Linked DNA regions of Homo sapiens: regions 1, 3, 4 and 5 are each linked to region 2. The links are contacts of gene promoters, found by promoter capture Hi-C in human tissues and cell types (Jung and others, 2019). All regions are on one chromosome and are shown on one strand. Each heading gives the region's core, a stretch centred on a gene start or on the middle of the fragment in contact. The rest is flanking DNA. Distances are from core to core; before and after follow the strand shown.

Region 1 (3,574 bases), core at 256-2,755, 520 kb before region 2:
TAATTAGGACTCTGGGTGACATTTCTCTCATTTAAATTCTCAGTTCTCTGTTCAAATCTAGAAAGAACAGCTCTCATTGAAAGGGTATGTTGGGAGGGTTTCTGTCAGGGCCCTGGGCCTCTTGCTGTCTGCCCTCACTGTGGATGTGAGAAGCAGAGATGTGTTCGGGTCATATGTACAGGGGAAATGGAGGGGTATCAGCGAGTATTTCCACTGGAAGGCACTACAGTGGGGCTGTTTGAGGCTGAGTTTTTGTTTTCTTTTGAGACAAGGTCTTGCTCTGTCACCCAGGCTGGAGTGCAGTGAAGCGATCAAGGCTCACTGCAGCCTTGACCTCCAGGCTCAAGTGATCCTCCCACCTCAGCCTCTCGAGTAGCTGGGACTATAGGTGCATACCATCATGCCCAGCTAATTTTTGTATTTTTTGGTAGAGACAGGGTTTTACCATGTTGCCTAGGCTGGTCTCAAACTCCTGGCCTCAAGTGATCCTCCTGCCTCGGCCTCCCAATATGCTGAGATTACAGGCATGAGCCACTGCACCTGACCTTGGATTTTATTTTTTTAAGATTCTTTATGAGCAGGCTCAAAGCCATTCTTCAATCACGAGGAATGAATGACCTCCAGCCCACGGTTGAAATTTCTGACAGGATGGAGTCATTTTATGGTTTCCTTCTGGGCCTGTCCTGGCAAGTGGGAGGCACAAGTGAGTACAGCCTGGAAAAGAGCATTCCACCTCATTTTCAGCTCAATTAACCTTTCCTGAAATGCCACAGTCCCTCAGAGAGGGGCCCTCCTGGGCCACATGAGATGGGAGGTGGAGGTTCACCACCAAGGCAGAGCAGGTAGATATGCTCCTTTAACTTTCTGGAGGCTGAGATAAGAACAAAAGCCATGAGCTCCCTATGGTTTGGGTTGAAGAAAAACCTCATTCATCCACTCCAAGGTGGTTTACATCCAGGCCAGGTGGGACGCCCTGGCTTTCCGCTCTCCCCTCAGAAAAGGGCTTGACCGAGGAAAGAGATGCAAGCAAAGTAGGCTGCAGGCACATTGAGCTCTCTGAAGACATGAGCCTGTTCCTCCAAGTGAACCTTGGTGGGTGTGGCCCCGGATCCCATGGAGGTGTCAGAGCTACCATCCACTCCCACATTGGACAGGGACGGCTGGAGCCAGGGCTCCTGGGCTCAGTAAACAAGTCCTCCTTTCTTACAGGACACTTGGAGGCAGCTTTTAACAACTCAGACCAGATGAGTGAGCACATTCTCACACATGTCCCATATTTCCCAAGTCAGTAACCAGCCCCTTGCAGAAGGCTGGTGATGCTTTACACCTTGGGGTCCTTCAGAGAAATGGGTTTGTCGTACAGCGTATCCTTTTCAACATGGATAAGCATTTTATTGTGCATTAATTCTAATGTAACGTTAATTGGAAATAATCCTTCTGGTGAGAAGAGCATAATTCTGCTGGCTTCTGGAGACTGGAAGAAGCTTTAGGACCCTCAAGGAGGAAGCCCTGTGGGAGGAGGAAGTGGCCATCATGAGCTTCAGCGAAGACGGCTCTGCAGGTTGCATTGAACTTGCGGACAAGTCTCCACCCGACTACCCCAACCTGGCAATTATGATCTGCTTATCAGGGGAGCAGTGACTTGACAGTCTGTCTCAGTTTACTTGTCTATAAAATGGTTATGAATAATCATATTGGCCTCATAGGGTTATAGTGAGAATTATAGCCACTGGCAGAGAGCACCCAGCCAGCCCCATTCCTGGAGAAAAGCAGAAGTTTAGTTCTTGGAAAAGTTGCATATAGATTCTTAAAGAAATGATGTCACAGGGACTTCCTTGCTATCCCTAAAAACCAGGGACCTGTTTTTAAGTCAGTGACCCAGCCTGCTACAGTGGAATCCCAGTTTTAGGATAATGTGAGGTCAGCTTTCCTCACTCCATTGCATGCCAGGGCCCACCCTTGGGTTTTAGGCTTGAAAAAGTTATAGTTACCAATATCCTCCTTCAGTGACTTTCCATGGCTTGGAGAAGACAGTCCAGATCCCCATCCTGCAGCATAAGGGCCCTGTGTGACCTGCCACCACTCAGTCATCTGCAGAAGGCTGGTGCCTGTGCACTCTATGTTCTGCTGATCGAGGTGCCCTCACCTTTCCCAACACATCATGTGGGGACACGCCCTATCTGTGTGCACAGGGAATGCTGTGGAATGTATGTAGAGCACCCTCCCTCATCTCCTTGGAATGCTTCTATCATCTCTCAAGATGCAATTCACCTTGTCTGGGAAACCCTTTTGAATCCCGCAGCAGTTATCTGCTCACTCCTCTGACCTGTGCACACACCTCTGAGATTGTACCATGCACTGTGTGGGAGCAGTCTTCTCCTAGCATTCTTCTCTAATAGGGAACTCTGCCTTCCCACCTTCTATACCTGGCACACGGACAGTGCTATAAATGTTGGTTGAATATAGAAATTGGTAGGAGGAGATCTGGAGTCAGGGCTCAGTGCTCCTGGGGATGGCTCAACTCCTGTTCTCAGGCAGAATGAAATCCCTAGCAAACTGCAGAGCAACCAAGGAGAAAACCTATCTCAGAAGTTAGCGCCCCCAACACACTGAAGTCTTGGATCAAGCATTTACCCACCTGCTAGAGATCAGTGGCTCTGGAGGAAGCAGCACGTAGACCTTTGTTCCTGGGCAACACTAACCCGCGGCATACCTGAGGAAATGTGAACCTGTTATCTGCTAGTTTTTGAGATCCCCTTTACCTCCACCTGGTGGGGAACGAGGCATCCCCTGCTGTCTGTTTTTTGCCCTCTTGATACCTGGATTCTTCTACCAGAATTAAATGTCTAGGATTTCAGTAGAGACTTTTCAAGGGGCTGAGACCTTCTGAGCCTGAAGAGTGTTATTCCTCTCTCTTGCTCTCAGCAGCTTGATTTGTAGGTCAGTCTACCATTTACTCTCCCACAAGGACTGGGGTATATTGTATTATTGTCCTTGTTCTTCACCCTCTATGGCCTTCGCCATGTGACTTTGATGTACTTCCCACTTGAATTGGGGCATATTTCCCATACTTCTTGCCATTGGGTGTAGTTATATGACTTGCTTGGGACAATAGAATGAGGTATTTCTACTCTCCTCCCTGAACCTTTGCCATGGCCATGAGAACATGCCAGCCTAGCTGCTGATCCCAGGAGAAAGGTGAGAGACATGTTGGGCAGAGCCAAGCCCCTAGACAGCCCAGCCTAGATTAGCTGACTCTCAGTTAGCAGAGACCCTTGAGAAATAACTGATGACTGTTGTTATAAGCCTTTGGAGTGGTTTGTTACATGGCATCATTGAAGTGATAGTTAACCAACTAATATTTAAAGAAATTTTGGTCATAATAATCTGATGCCCAGTACACTGCCCTGTCCCCTTGGCATGGGAAGCTCATACCAAGAACATCAACTTTGGCACACACACACAGCCCCCTCCCTATGACAAAATTGGATAGCACATGCTCCAGGGTTGTCTTCGTAAAAGACGTGTGTCCCTGTGAGATGGAGTAACACTGACAACAGGAACTGAAGTGTTT
Region 2 (3,580 bases), core at 561-3,060:
CCAAAGAGAGCAGGGAGTGAGTGTTGAGGACAGATCATCACAACTGTGCAGTTGAGGAGCATGATTTGAACCCAGGTTTGTCTGTTCATTCAAACAGTATTTATTGAGCCCTTGCTTTGGGTCAGGCACAATTTTATATGCTGGAGACACAAACCTAAAAGGACCCTAACCTAAAAGGCAGACCCCACAAACCTAAAAGGCAGAACAGCTGCCTTTCAAAGCTAAAGTCTCGCATTTTTAAAAGGCCTTGGAGCTGCATTAATGTTCTTCTAATTTTTCTAGGTATGAATCTTCATACTTTTCTAGGTATGAATCGACCCTGTGACACCAGGATGGTTCTTTGTCAGCCTCCTTGTCTATAAAATCAGAAATAATGGTACCTCCCCCAATAAGTTATGTGAAACAAATTAAAGGGGCTTATTATACAGGAAACAAAAGCAGCACAGCATCCAAACTACTGAGCGTGCAGTAAATCAACGCATTCCCACTTCCATTCCATCCACGCTGATTTAGATCAATCCAAGTATCACTGCCTTGGGGTTCAAAAGGCCATGTTAGTTCACAAAGCCCCGAAAATGCTCTTTCACACTCTCTGCTCAGCCTCCAACGTGTCTTTTTAATAATCCAAACTTTCCACCTACTTAACTGAAGTGTGTGGGGGGAGAGGGTGCGGGGGGGAAGGGGTGGCCTATACTAAATAGCCCAACTGTTTTCCACTTGTCCTGAAATCTGAGACCAAGATTCTCTTAGGAATGCAAGCAAAGGGAGCCGACGGGACGCCAAGAAAGCACAGGTTAAACTACCTCACTTCATCTAGCCCCATTTCTCTCCTGGCTTTTCAATTAATTATTCAGCCTCAGACCAGCAGATGGAGCTGAAAATGTTGTCTAAAGAAATGAGGTTTTTCTTTTAATTTACAAGCTATAGTTTCTCATGCCTCCACACTGAATGGTTACATCCTGTTGAGCCTGTTCGTAAAGTTCAGTAAAAATCCAGTTCTCATTCCAGAACAGCTGAATCGTAGCTATGAACGCGGAAGAACAGAGTCCCAACCCCAGCCGGGCCCGGGTTTCCCGGGGCCCCTCAAGCCTCAGGGCAGTGGAGAGCCGCCGTCACGCCCCCGCCTCCCCCACGTCCCACCCTCGCCCCAGTCTCCTCCCACTTTTAGCTACTTTTCCCATCTGACTAAAACTGGCTTCCTCCGTGTCCACCAAGATGTCGCCTCTAAGTGGCCTAACTCCTAAAGAGCGCGATCGGCTCAAGCACTCCGCCACGCGGTTTCCACGGGGCGCGGCCGGCGTTGCCCTCGCCGTGGCCTCAAGCATTGCGGCGCCCCACATGTTGCCAGACGGAAGGCCTCGGCGGGGTCAGGCAGCTGCTGCTGGCCGTGACTACATCACTGGTGACGTTTCACGAGACTTTTAACTGAAATCACTCCAATACAGGCGCATGCGGGACGAGGGGAAAGCATCTCACCCGACCCCACACACCTTCCCCTCCCTCTCCAGCCTAGCGGCCTCCGCTCAGCGGAAAAAAAAGCAGACGCTACTCCCCGCTCTAGGTGCGGGACCTAAGAGGTTTGGCCCAATCAGGCATCCCACCTAACCAGACGGGCCGGAGTCTGTGGCCCGGTTGGACCAACGAAAACTCTAGGGCGGATTTGCCGGGATTTCTGGGAAAGTGACACTCCCGGAAGCTACCGCCTCTTATAAGCCACACATGGGCGGAGTTAGCCTTCCGGCCCGCAGTCCCACTGGCTGACTTCGCTGCCCGTCACGGGAATGCGGGAGAGGGCGGCGCCGGGGCGCTCGCGTCTGCGTGGAGACCGGCTGGCCGCGCGCGGGAAGCCGCGGAACTGCGCCGGAAAGTCCCCCGGCTCTGGGGCCCCGGTGACCCAGAGTAAGCCTCCAAGAAGGAGGAGGAGGAGAGAAAGGCGGCTCTTCCCGTGCCCCTACCAGAGGCTTCGGTGGGCCCACCTTGTGACCTCCGCGGCCGGCCCCTCAGTGGAACTGCGTCCCACGCGGGGGGCGTCCCGACCGTGGGGGCCGCGGCCCGCGCTGACCCTGGACGTCGCCGCGCAGGTACGTTGCCGTCCCCCGGCGGTCTGACCCCCGAGACAGCCCCTAGTGCATACCCCACGCCCTCCTCCATTGTCGAGAATGAGACACGGCTGTGCCTTTGTCCACGTGGTAGAGTTGCCGCCGCGGTGAGGCTCTCGCCTGTGCAAAAAGCGTGGCAGCGAATTCTCATCAACGAGGGGAGGCGCGTCCCCTCACAGCGCAGCTCTCGGGTCTGAGGAGGGCCGGGCAGGGCGTGCGTCTGTCTAGGTTTGAATTAAAGGCGACTCACAGGAAATAAGGCCATGCCACTGTGGTAGCTTTTCCCGTCCATCTCCGGACACTCGACGGTGTGGGTCGTGCGAGGAGGCGGCAGTCTTCACAGCCTCTTACTCTAGTCCTCACGGTCAGGTTCTTTTTCTGATTTGACACAGACAGCGGGACTGACGACCTCATAGGTAGCTGAAAACCGTAAGTGGAGATGGTCCTTCTATGGTGTGTGGGGGCGTGGCCAGTTGTTAGATTGTGTTTGGAAAGACAGCCAGGGGCGGAGAAGAGGGGCATTTCTGAGATGATGGGGGGACTGGTGCCATGGAGGGAGGAGGAGTGAGGTGGAGATCGGGAATTCCAGCCAAAGAGAAATGGGGTCCCTGGGAGAAAATTCCCACTCTAGCAGTCCTGGAGTTGTGCTCATGGAGACTTGCTTACGCGAGTACAAGGACAGCGTTGTATTGACAAAATTTCAGCCCTCAGTCTAGTCTTGTAAACGATAGATCAGGAGTGTACTTAACCGTCGTTACTTTGATCCAGCCCTAGGTTTCCCTTTTCTCATTTGTAAAATTGTTATAGTAATACCTTTTTCATCCATTTGTGGTAACATTTAAATGAGGTAATTTGTGTGAAGCCCTTAGCAAACACAGCGCTTCTTAGTCGTGGGTTCCGCGTGGGGTGGATTCAACCAACCTCAAATCAAAAATATTCTTCAGAAAAAGAAAAATGCGTTTGTACTGAACATGTAGAGGCTTTTTTTTTCTTGTCATTATTTCCTAAACTATACAGTATAACAACTATTTACATCCCATCTACATTGTATTAGGTATTATAAGTTACCTACAGATGATGAAGGTATATAGGAGGATGCTGCGCATAGGTTATATCAAACAGTACACCATTTTATCAGGGACTTGAGCATCTGCAGGTGTTGGTATCCTCGGGGGTCCTGAATCCAGTTCCTCACAGATACCGAGGGACCACTGTACTCAGTCCAGAGTACAGTTGAGGCTTAACTATGAGGTCTGTGGAGGGCGTGGAAAGACCCACGTCTGAAATTGGCTCTTAACTGCTCATTTTTAGGACAGCTTCCCTCCCAGCCAGCCCTTTACCAGAGGCAATGCACCATCTTTGCAGCCGTTATAAGTACCTGGCTCTTTCCAGCCCTATGTGGAATGTTTTATTTATTTCATAAGCTAATCATTATAAAAAAAAAAGTCTTTTTTTTGAAATGAAAAAAAACTGTTCACTAA
Region 3 (3,459 bases), core at 191-2,690, 590 kb before region 2:
GGATTTCAGAGGGGTGCGAAGCCTTTATTTCCAGGCTCAATTTGATCTGCTGCTTGAAGAGCTCAACAAAATGAGTCCAAGTGTTAGAAAAATTCAAACCCAGTTGAAGGATGAGGGTGGTTTCTCATAAAGCAGTGAGTTGTCCTGGCTCCTTAAATTGGCTGAGAACAAGGAAGGGCTGTTCAGCCAAATTTTTCTTTCGCAGTTCATAAAAACTTGACCATGCATAATAAAAGCTTACATTTACATAGCACGCTTGAGTTTCCACAGTGCTCATGGGTTTATTCTTTAAATGTTGTGGTTCCTAAAGACAGTTTTACAAATGAGGAAACTCAAGGTTAAGAAGGGTAAGTGATTTTCCCAAAGTTACAAAGCCAATGAGGGTCAGGCTGGGGTCCAGAGCCTCTGAGAATCCTCTCGTCACACCACCATGGGGCTGGGTCATTTCCCTGGGGAAGGATTTAAAATATATATATATATACACATATTTTAACTTTAAGTTCTGAGATACATGTGCAGAATGTACAGGTTTGTTACATAGGTATACATGTGCCATGGTAGTTTGCTGAACCTATCAACCTGTCTTCTAGGCTTTAAGCCCTGCATGCATTAGGTATTTGTCCTAATGCTCTCCCTCCCCTTGCCCCCCACCCCCCAACAGGCCCCCGTGTATGATGTTCCCCTCCCTGTGTTCATGTGTTGTAATTGCTCAACTCCCACTTATGAGTAAGAATATGTGGTGTTTGGTTTTTTGTTCCTGTGTTAATTTGATAAGAATGATGGCTTCCAGCTTCATCTATGTCCCTGCAAAGGACATGAGCTCATTTTTTTTTTTTTTTTAATTCGAAGATGCTTGAAGCTTGTTTTCATCCATACCTGCTTGGCATTTTGAGTTTACAGAGCTTTTCTGCAGACACTTGAGGGTTTCTGTTTTTGTTTTTAGATTCAGGGGGTGCATGTGCAGGTGTGTTACATGGGTGTATTGTATAATGCTGGAATTTGGGCTTCCATTGAACCCATCACCCAAATAGTGAACATGGTGCCCAATAGGCAGTTGTGGTAGGATATTAGGTGGAGACCCATGAGCGTCCAAATATGGGAAGAGCTGACCCCCATCCTCCATGCTATAAGGAAAGTGGTAAACTTTCCATGAAGGACAAGTTAGGAAGGTCCACACACTTTCTCTGCAACTGACGGCTACCTTCAACCTTTACATATAGGAAACATGGTGAGAGGGGATGGGACAAGGGGATTCAGCTCATCAGTGTCAGCTCCACTACATGGTTCCGTTGTAAGGATTAAATGAGGTGATGCTATGTAAAAGCTGAAGAAATACTGGTATCTTCCACATACCTCTTGGGGTCAAAGAGGAGAGATGGACACCAAGCGACCACCAGGGCTGTTGGCTCCATTCATAGGACTGATTTTGCTTTAGCCACTCCTCTTAAATCCCTACCAATGGCTTTCCTATGTACCCCTGTCACTGCTAGGCCTGCAGCTCTGCAGTGAACTTCTGCTGCAAGAATGAGGTCTCGGATGGGTCTTTCCTGAGAAACCCTTTCCTGAGAAATATTTTCTCTGGGAATAGGACTCCCAGAGGGACTGGGTTGGCTGGAATCAAAGCAAGCGAAAGTAGTTCATTCTCCCCCTTGGTGCCACACCACACTCTCCTCCTTCTGCCCTGGCAAGCCGTTCTTTCCCATCTGGGAAGCCCTGGCTTGGTGGGAAGCAGGAGCATTAATAAGCCTCAGTCAATAACCAGTCCCATGGTTTCAGCTGGTTGTGCAGAGCTCCCAGGCCTGTCAGTGACAGAGCAGCTGAAAGAGAGGCCCACACAGGCCACAGTCAGCAGTGGGGATCCAGGGGCAGCCCACTGCCAAAGGCTGGTGGCCTCCTTCATGGTTTCCACCCATAGGGGTGAGCTGAAGGGAGGCTGTACTCTAGAACCTTCTAGAAAGCCAAGGTCACAGTTGCCCTGGCCAGCCAGCCTCAACTTCAAAGAATTCACAAGCAGGGGGCATTCGCTCTGGGACGCAGCATCATCCAAAGAAAATGCAGCTTTCCTCTCATGCAGTGTCTGTGAAGATGTCGTGTTGTCAGAGCATTGTTCACCAGGTCCTCTGACCCTAACACACGCTGGAATGCCAGCCTCTCTCCCCTCCCCAGATGCTTAGCCAAAGAAGCCACTTTGCATGGAGGCAGGAAAGAAAGAAGGCAAAGGACATAGCTGGTTTCACTCTGTGGTCTCAAGTTCAAAACAGTTACCCTAGCGCAGGGCCACCTGGTAAAAATATGACCCCAGCCACATGTACCATTTTAAAATATCTAATAGCCACATTTAACAAAGGGAAAATGGTAAAATTTACTTCATTGATAGATTTTACTTAACCTGTTGTATCAAAAGTATTATCATTTCAGCTCTTAATTATAAAACAAATGTTAGTGAAATATTTTGCATTCTTTTCTCATATTGTGTCTTGAAGCTGCCTTGGAGCACTGTTTCCTTTTACCTCAAAGGTGATCGCCAACCCCCTGTAATAATCAGGACTGAATATTAAAACATAATATAGGAAAATATATATTATGTTTGTATAAGGTTTACTATGCCTCAAAGAACCTTCACATTCTTTTTTTTTTTTTTTTTTTTTTTTTTTAAGATGGAGTTTTGGAGTGCAATGGTGCGATCTCGGCTCACCCTAACCTCTGCCTGCCAGGTTGGTTCAAGTGATTCTCCTGCCTCAGCCTCCTGAGTAGCTAGGATTATAAGCAGGCACCACCATGCCTGGCTAATTTTGTATTTTTAGTAGAGACGAGGTTTCTCCATTTTGTCTAGGCTGGTCTCGAACTCTCGACCTCAGGTGATCCGCCCGCCTCTGCCTCCCAAAGTGCTGGGATTACAGGCATGAGCCACTGTGCCTGGCCAGAATCTTCACATTCTTTAACCCATTTGATTTCATCTGAGCCAGTTTGACTCTTTTACACATTTGACAGTGCAAACTGCAGCACAAGAGAACTCAAGTGTCACCAGGCAGTTGGTAGTGGAGTTTGGTCTCCTGATTCCTGGTGTAGCAGATTTCCCACCGGAACCACAGGGCAAGACACAGTGCCAGGCCCCGAGTTCACCTGGATGGGGAAAGGGAAAGTGAGAAGTCAGGGTGGTCAGGAAAGCTGCAAGAGATGGGGCTGACCTATCTGCAAACATAAACAACCACAGGACTGTACACGTTGAGAGGGTGAATGGTATCTCAATAAAGTGGTTAAAGAGAGAGAGACAGAGACAAAGAAACAGAGACAGAGAGTCCGAGAGAAAGAGAGAGAGACATAGAGACAGAGAGAGACACAGAGAGAGGGAGACATAGGGAGAAACAGAGAGAGAGATATAGAGACAGAGAGACACACAGAGACAGAAAGAGAGAGACACAGAGACAGAGAGAAACATAGAGACAGAGACAGAGAGAC
Region 4 (3,508 bases), core at 995-3,494, 840 kb before region 2:
CCCTGTTGAGTGGGAGCAGGTACAAGACAGATGGTTTGTTAAACATTGCCAGCATGCTTGCGCAGTGCCGTGCGGCGGTCAGAGCCTGGATAATGGTCACCAGGGCATTGTGTAGCAGCGCATTGGCTAATTTCAGCCCAGCTAAAGCTATTGCTTATCTTTGTTGGTTTTGCAAAGATTAAGGCAGTTTCTCTGCTTTGAATGCACCACAGCTGCCCAGCAAAGCATTCCTGAAGTTTTGTCTGAATTCCCACTGCTAAGAGGGGCCAAGCAAAAGGTGGCTCGTGCAAGGACTTGTTTTAAGCTCATATGTGAAGTTGCTTCTCCTCAACTAATCTGGACCACTCTTGACTCTTACTTCTGGGCAAAACCCTCTAGAGTTACAGGGGCCTTCTTTCTCAGTGAGTCCTTTCCTGTGTGGTTCGAAATGCATCTGCTGGGGATTTATATTTCCTAGATTTATATTTCCTATTGGGATTGATTCATTTGCTACTTTTGTGGAAAAAGGTAAACACCATTGTAAATTCCATCCGGTGAATCATGGGGAGGCGGTGGTTCCAATTAAACGTGTTTGCTTTCGGAAGGGGGCCCTTGGCTTCTTATCTTTATGTACAGAAGAAAATAGAGCTCAACCGGGCCTCTGCAGCCAATGGAAACGCACCTGGCCCAGTCAGCTGCTAGGCTGAGTCTCTGCTGCTCTGGGCTCCAACTCGCTCCTCTCGGTTGTTTGCAGACAAAGGGAGAGTAGCTGCGGGTCATGCAGAGGGGACAGTCCCCTTGGCTCTGCCTATAGTCCCAAAGCAAAGCAGGGGGTGCAGCTACTATCTGGGTATGTTAGGAAAGGGTGATGGCTGATCGGTTTAGTATTTCCAACAGTTCAAATGTCTTTATCTTCTTTTAAAGGTAGTGCATATCTATCCCCACCTAATTGAACCAGTGCTGTATTTACTTCAGGCAGCCCCCTCTGCCTAAATTAGATCATTTCTAGCTATAAAATCAAGAAAGTGTGCCCAGCAGATTAAGCCCTAAAAGTGGACTTGTTAACTACATCTACAGAAGCAAAGAGAGCAAGAGAATTTTTATATACTCTCCCTCTCTCCCTCTCTCTCTCTTTTCTCTCTCTCTCTCCCTCTCTCCCTCTCTCCCTCTCTCTCTGCCTCTCTCCCTCTCTCCCTCTCTCTCTGCCTCTCTCCCTCTCTCCCTCTCTCTTTCCCTCTCTCTCTCCTTCTCTCCCTCTTGTTTCTCTCTCTCTCTCCCTCTCTCCCTCTTGTTTCTCTCTCTCTCTCTCTCTCATGCATGCACCACACACCCCTACCTTTAGAACTAGGAAACTAATTCGCCTTCCTGGCTCCAGGCCTCAGCATCTCTGCTTAGCATCAGGCATTTGTCATATAGATCTCAAATCAGGAGGCTTTAGTGAGCAGCTAAGGGCTGACAATGTGTCCCAGGGAAAAGAAACCCATAAAGGAGAAAAGCAAAGGTCTGAGAGGTTCACCTGCAAATTCTGGACATTGAAAGCAACTGTACGTCTCCTCAGGTGCAAATAATTGAAATAATACTACTACTCAGGCCATGGTGCAGTGTGCTCACCCAAGGCCCTTCTTGTTTTATTTTATTTTACTACTTTCCCCTGGATTCCCTGTGTGTTCTGGCTCCCAAATCACTCACTCACTTAGGAACCTCCTGGAACGGGTTTCCTAGTTTGGGTTTGGAACCTGTCTAGAAGCTTCTATTGGGAGAGAGAGTGCTGTTTGTGACTCCATGTCGGCAGCTTTCCTTTGATTCCTCTAGTCCAAGGCTGCTATTTTTCCTAAGCCGTTGTCCATCTGGGTCTAAATGTATTGGCGTGTAGAGTTTCACAGACACTTTTGCCATCTCATTTTTCAAAGAATCACATTTTAATGGGGATTTTTGGCAATTTCATTGATTTTTTTAAACTCACTTTATATCTTTTTCTTTGCTTTGGTTTTATTCTGTCATTTTTCTTTTTCTTTTTCTAATATGTTTAGTTATGTCCTTAGGTATGTGGTCTTTCGGTGTCTTGTTTGCTATTTGTGTATTCAAAATTATGTAAAACTTTAAGTGCAACTTGAGAGTTATGGGTCATAAAGTTTGACATTTGACACTTTTGTTCTTATCCAGTTCCAAGTATTTTGTAATATCTTTTAAATTTCCTCTAAACCCCAATGGTTATATACCATACATTATAATGTTTTATGTGTCCAAGAGATGGTCGAAGTGGTTTTATTGCCATTACTGATTTTTTAACTTTATTTCATTATAATCAACACATTGTGTATGTATTGATTACTTGGCATTTACAAAAGTTTTCTTTGTTCCATGGGAATTAAAATGAATATTCTCTGTGGGTGTAAGTTATGTACATCTATTAGATCAGTGTTGTCCAAAAGAAATATAATGCCAGCCACATATATAATTTTATATTTTCTAGAAGCCATATTAAAAAGTGAAAATGCACAGGTGAAATTAATTTTAATAATATTATTTAAGACAATATATACAAAACAACAATTTGAACATATAATCAATATAAAAATATTAACAAGATGCTTTACATTATTTTTCTGTATTGAGTGTTAGAAACCTGGGGTGGATTTAGCTCTTTCAGTGCATTTCAATACAAATACTAAAATTGGATACACTTGATCTGTATTTAGATTTCAATTTACAATTGAAAGAGCAGATTGTTCTAAACATACTTAAAAGTTTTTCAATACCTGAATTAAGTATTAGGTTTTAAAATTTAAATTAATTAAAATTAAATAAAATCTTAAAATTTTCTTGCATTAGCTACACTTCAAGTGCTCAAGAGTTATGTAGCTATCGGCTACTGTATTGGACAATATAACATTAAGTAACTGTTATAATGCTTCTCAAATATTCCAAATTATTGGTAATTTTTGTCTCCTTTGTCAGTGTTTTTTTAAAAGATTTATTGACATCTCTCCTACTATTATTATATCTATAAGACCTTACATTCTGAAATTGTGTGTGTGTTTCACCCCCTGTTTATTTTTTTCCTCTTTCTGGGACTCCTGTTATAGGGAGCCATGTTCTTAACTATTACTTTCCGTCTCAATCTCTTCATCTTGCTGAGTCCTTCCTGATTTGTTCTTCCACTGAATCCACCCTACTATTCAGTCCCTCAATTATGCTCTTTATTCCAACAATTAAAGTCTGTTTGTGGCTGTGTGTTCTTGTTTTGTTTTTCCTGATCTGTTTGAGAATATTTATTAAGCTTCCTTTAATTCATGCCCTGCCTGAACTCCCCTACCATCTCATCTAGTGTGTGTGGCTCAGTTATTGGGCTGGCCCTGACCCTTTCATATCCTCCTGAGCCCACATGCATGTGGAAACACCGGCTGCCTTGGCTGGTCTGACATCCCTGGGAGAAGGAGCAAAGGCCCAGGTGCAGGCCTTGCCTGCCTCGTGGTGAGGATGAGCCTGGGGGATGACATCGGGGTGCGTGGCTTCCATGTTTATTGTG
Region 5 (3,512 bases), core at 262-2,761, 970 kb before region 2:
TTGCAGGTGACCTGACATTCTTGGATCACTCTCCCAGAAAGCCATGTGTTGGACCCCTCCCTTTCTATCTTAAAATGCCCGATGTTAGAAGCTCATAGTAGTTGTAAAGGAGCTAATGTGATGCTTAAAAAGGGCTCAAAACATTGGTTCCCCCGCCCCCACCCCTCAGGGCCTGGGAAGTTTCCCTTTCTCTTTGGGAGAAAAGTTGCTTTTCATTTTTCACTTGTGCCTGTGTGTTCTCTGTTACGTTATTACTATTTCCATCAAAAAGCATTTTATAGTTCAATGTTTGGGGGAAATACAGTCCCATAAGCAGGCCCCTATTCAGGCCCCTATCCAGCCTCCTCGTCCTTTTGCCTCCTCACCCCTTCCTAGGGCCCATACCTTGCAGTGCCTTGTGTGAAATTTTCGAAGGCAGTCCTCACTCACAGCCCCACTTGGAATGTCACAAGCATTTAGCAGATTAAAGGCTCTGAAAAGCCCTGCAGTAAAGTAATGTTTAACTTCAATTAAACCACCCTCTCTCAAATTCACTTGACTGCTAAACTCTTTTTCAAAGAACACCTGTATGTATTCCAAAAAGTTCTGGATTAAATATTGTTAACCTCTCAAAGAACACAGGGTGGGGCCTATTTATCCTCTGTGTGCCTTCAAATCCCAGGAGGCTCAGGCCTTTTCTGCAATAAAAAATGTATTCATAACTCTTTAATTGCTCTCTTCCCTTCTTCCTCTCTGACTTATTTGTATAATATAAAGTTAGTGCGCTATATTTGAATAACATGGATAGAAATAAACTTTTAATGCCAGAACCTCCTCTCAAAAAAAAGTGGTAAAGCTAGAACTCTCACTGTAGTTGCCTGTAATTTAAAGTGAAAGGCTCCAAACAGGTGTTTCCCCTGGAAGAAATGTTCAAGCCTTGTTAAGAGTCTATAATATGTCAATATACACTGTTAAAAGAGATGACAGGTCATGTGCCACATGACAACAGTTTAGTCAAGATAGACTGCATATCAAATAGTGGTCCCATAAGATTATAATATTGTATTTTTAGGGTAGCTTTCCTATATTAGCTATGTTTAGATACACAAATACTTACCGTTGTGTTACAACTGCCTACAGTATTTGGTACAGCAACGTGCTGCCCCAGTGTGTAGTCCAGGAGCAATAGGCTAATGCCACATAGCCTGGGGGTGTAGCAGGTTCTACCATCTAGATTTGTGCAAGTACACTCCATGATGTTCACACAACAGCAAAATAGCCTAACAATGCATTTCTCAGAATATACTCACTCGGTTAAGCAACGTGTTTGTACTTTTCTTGTGACTTGAATCACTTCCGTTTTAAATCTGTAAGAAGCTGAAATACTATATCCTCTTTCTTTCTTTTAATAAACGAGTAGGAGACAGTGCACCTGGGCTCACTCGTCAGAGAGGCTGACCCATGTGAAAGGCAAGGAGTCCTGCCCCAGTCACTCATGCCTGTCGCCCATTATTTTAGTGAATTGTGGTGAAAACCCCAGCTCCATATAGGCTGGCTGTGTCTAGATGGTACAACTGAGTCAGCTGGGGAACACACAAGGCAGCATTGCAGACCATCATTGCAAAATAGCTGTGCATTCCTTCACCTGAGCTTTTGTGACGGGTGCATTGGGTTGGTAAAATGACTAAAATTATTCAGTTGCCCCTGTTCCGGTTGTAGAAAAATGCTCTTCACACAAGGAATGTTTTTGTGGTTTGCCACATTTGGAAATGTCAGCTACTTTGGAAATGCTGTATTTAGCCTCAAATCCCACACCCATTCAATGCTGTTAACCAGATCTCCAGGGTGTAGCGACAGTGCAAGTCCATGTATTTTGAGATCTATTAATACCTTTTGGTTACCAAGTGGCATTTGCTTCCCGTATATTGCCATGAAACAGAACAGCAAGGTCCAAGTTTGCCCTGGTTTATGAAAAGGACCTCATCGTACTGAGATAGTTTGTCAAAGTTAAAGTTAAAATCCCAGAGGGGCTTTCTTATTCTCCTGTCCTCCCATGAATTTTTGATGCATCAGAAAATCACATTTTAAAGGCATGAAAGTGGGGTGAAGCAACAATTTTCACCAGAACTGTGAGTGTGAAGGAGTGTGTGTGTGTGTGTGTATGTGTGTGTTTTGTTTCTCCAAGTCTGTTTAATGGGAATACTCAATGTTAAGTCTCCCAGTGGTGCCTGAACTTATATATGGTAATATTCACATAAATGCAATATGTGCTTCCCTTTTTTGACATATATATAACTTGTCATTTCATTTCTTGGGACTAATAGGCAAAACTAATATTTCTAGAGAAATCTGAGAAAGCATGTGTGTGCTGTATACACGTGTATGTCCCCAGAGTGTTTTATTGCTTAGAAACCAAAAGGGATCACAAGATTAGAATCTGTGCAGGGCAGCCTAACCTGACCCTGTTCATTGATTCATTCATTCATTCAGTGGGATTTGAGTGCCAACTGCATACCAGGACTATCTGGATGCTTCACTGAATAGAAACCACCCACTGGACTTATTTTGGGGGAGTTGGTAGGGAAAGGGGAGGATGACAGACCATGAAGACAATACTTGAGTAAATTGCTCTCGGCCCTCCTCTCACCCCAAGGGCCCTCTTGGGTAGGGAGGGGTTGGGAGGTCCTCTCCTTAAGGGAGGGGTCTCTCTCAAGCACCTTCCCCCTGTAGCTAAGCAACCCCCAACTAGACCATGTTACTTAAGGGCCTGGCTCAGGTCACCTGCCCCCTTCCCACAACCCCACTCTCCCCGAAATGCCAACCTCATCACTGTGCTGATTCATTCCAAGCCATCCCCTGAAACCTAAAATCCTTTAAAATGCCTCTACCTCTTTCTTTATTAATCCACCCATTTTTCAGATCACCGAGGTACTTTCTGGATGCAGAAGCAATCGGAGTGTCTGCTGTCTGGCAGCAGCTGGTCTCTAAAATTGTTCAGGTCATCATGTCAGATCTTGAGATCGGGCTGAGAATGCGCTTCCTGGCTGGATGACTTGGGTCTCATTTGACTCTGTCCAGCGAGAGACACAGCTCTACTCTTTCTCCCCACCCCAACCCACCCCTCAGGTGCTCTCTTTCCCATTTCCACTTTCTGGATGTGAGGTCTACCCAGACCCTCCTTTCCCAGGTAGGCGGTGTCCTTGGTTTCGGGGGTATGTGGCCCAAATCCCCTCCCTTGTCCTGCCCCAGTGGGTTACAGGAACTTTCTTGCCCACCCCCCACCCAGATACGAGGGGCGAATGAGTGAGTGTCCAAGTCTAACTCCCATGTGAAACACTTTCTATGGAAAAACTAAACTCCAGTTGGTAATGAGAGGGAGACACCACATTCATTCATTCATTCATTCCAAAAGCATTCACCAAGAACTTTCTGGGTACCAGGTCCAGGCAGCCAGGGATCCTCCTGGCACTGAGAGGCACCAACAGACAGCACAGGACTGGCCCATGGGGTCACCAAGGGAGTGCAGGCTTAGT

Evidence for each region. Contacts are between HindIII fragments. The study calls those that stand out against the background at their distance.
Region 1: a fragment that was not itself captured here is called in contact with the fragment with the promoter of NXT1 in region 2 in 1 of the 25 tissues and cell types used here (H1 embryonic stem cells).
Region 3: a fragment that was not itself captured here is called in contact with the fragment with the promoter of NXT1 in region 2 in 1 of the 25 tissues and cell types used here (thymus).
Region 4: a fragment that was not itself captured here is called in contact with the fragment with the promoter of NXT1 in region 2 in 1 of the 25 tissues and cell types used here (H1 embryonic stem cells).
Region 5: a fragment that was not itself captured here is called in contact with the fragment with the promoter of NXT1 in region 2 in 1 of the 25 tissues and cell types used here (lymphoblastoid cells).

What each region holds. Positions count from the first base shown.
Region 1 is chr20:22,825,903-22,829,476 of GRCh38, forward strand. No RefSeq gene overlaps it. Among named protein-coding and RNA genes, the nearest start is that of LINC01747, 140 kb to the left of the region's middle. The HindIII fragment of the contact is 7,062 bases long and covers 1-3,574 here.
Region 2 is chr20:23,348,981-23,352,560 of GRCh38, forward strand. It overlaps NXT1 (nuclear transport factor 2 like export factor 1), which reads left to right and starts at 1,811. Exons shown (of 2, transcript NM_013248.3): 1 at 1,811-2,081. It overlaps NXT1-AS1 (NXT1 antisense RNA 1), which reads right to left and starts at 2,487. Exons shown (of 3, transcript XR_937384.2): 1 at 2,350-2,487. RefSeq lists enhancers at 812-1,684, 1,393-1,532, 1,452-1,746, 1,685-2,556, 2,613-2,662 and silencers at 1,103-1,232, 1,853-2,122. The HindIII fragment of the contact is 17,754 bases long and covers 1-3,580 here.
Region 3 is chr20:22,758,827-22,762,285 of GRCh38, forward strand. No RefSeq gene overlaps it. Among named protein-coding and RNA genes, the nearest start is that of LINC01747, 75 kb to the left of the region's middle. The HindIII fragment of the contact is 6,241 bases long and covers 1-3,459 here.
Region 4 is chr20:22,512,023-22,515,530 of GRCh38, forward strand. The region is part of intron 2 of LOC105372564 (a long non-coding RNA gene); the gene reads right to left. Among named protein-coding and RNA genes, the nearest start is that of LINC00261, 65 kb to the right of the region's middle. RefSeq lists an enhancer at 723-1,224. The HindIII fragment of the contact is 4,166 bases long and covers 162-3,508 here.
Region 5 is chr20:22,381,602-22,385,113 of GRCh38, forward strand. No RefSeq gene overlaps it. Among named protein-coding and RNA genes, the nearest start is that of LINC01427, 100 kb to the left of the region's middle. The HindIII fragment of the contact is 8,346 bases long and covers 1-3,512 here.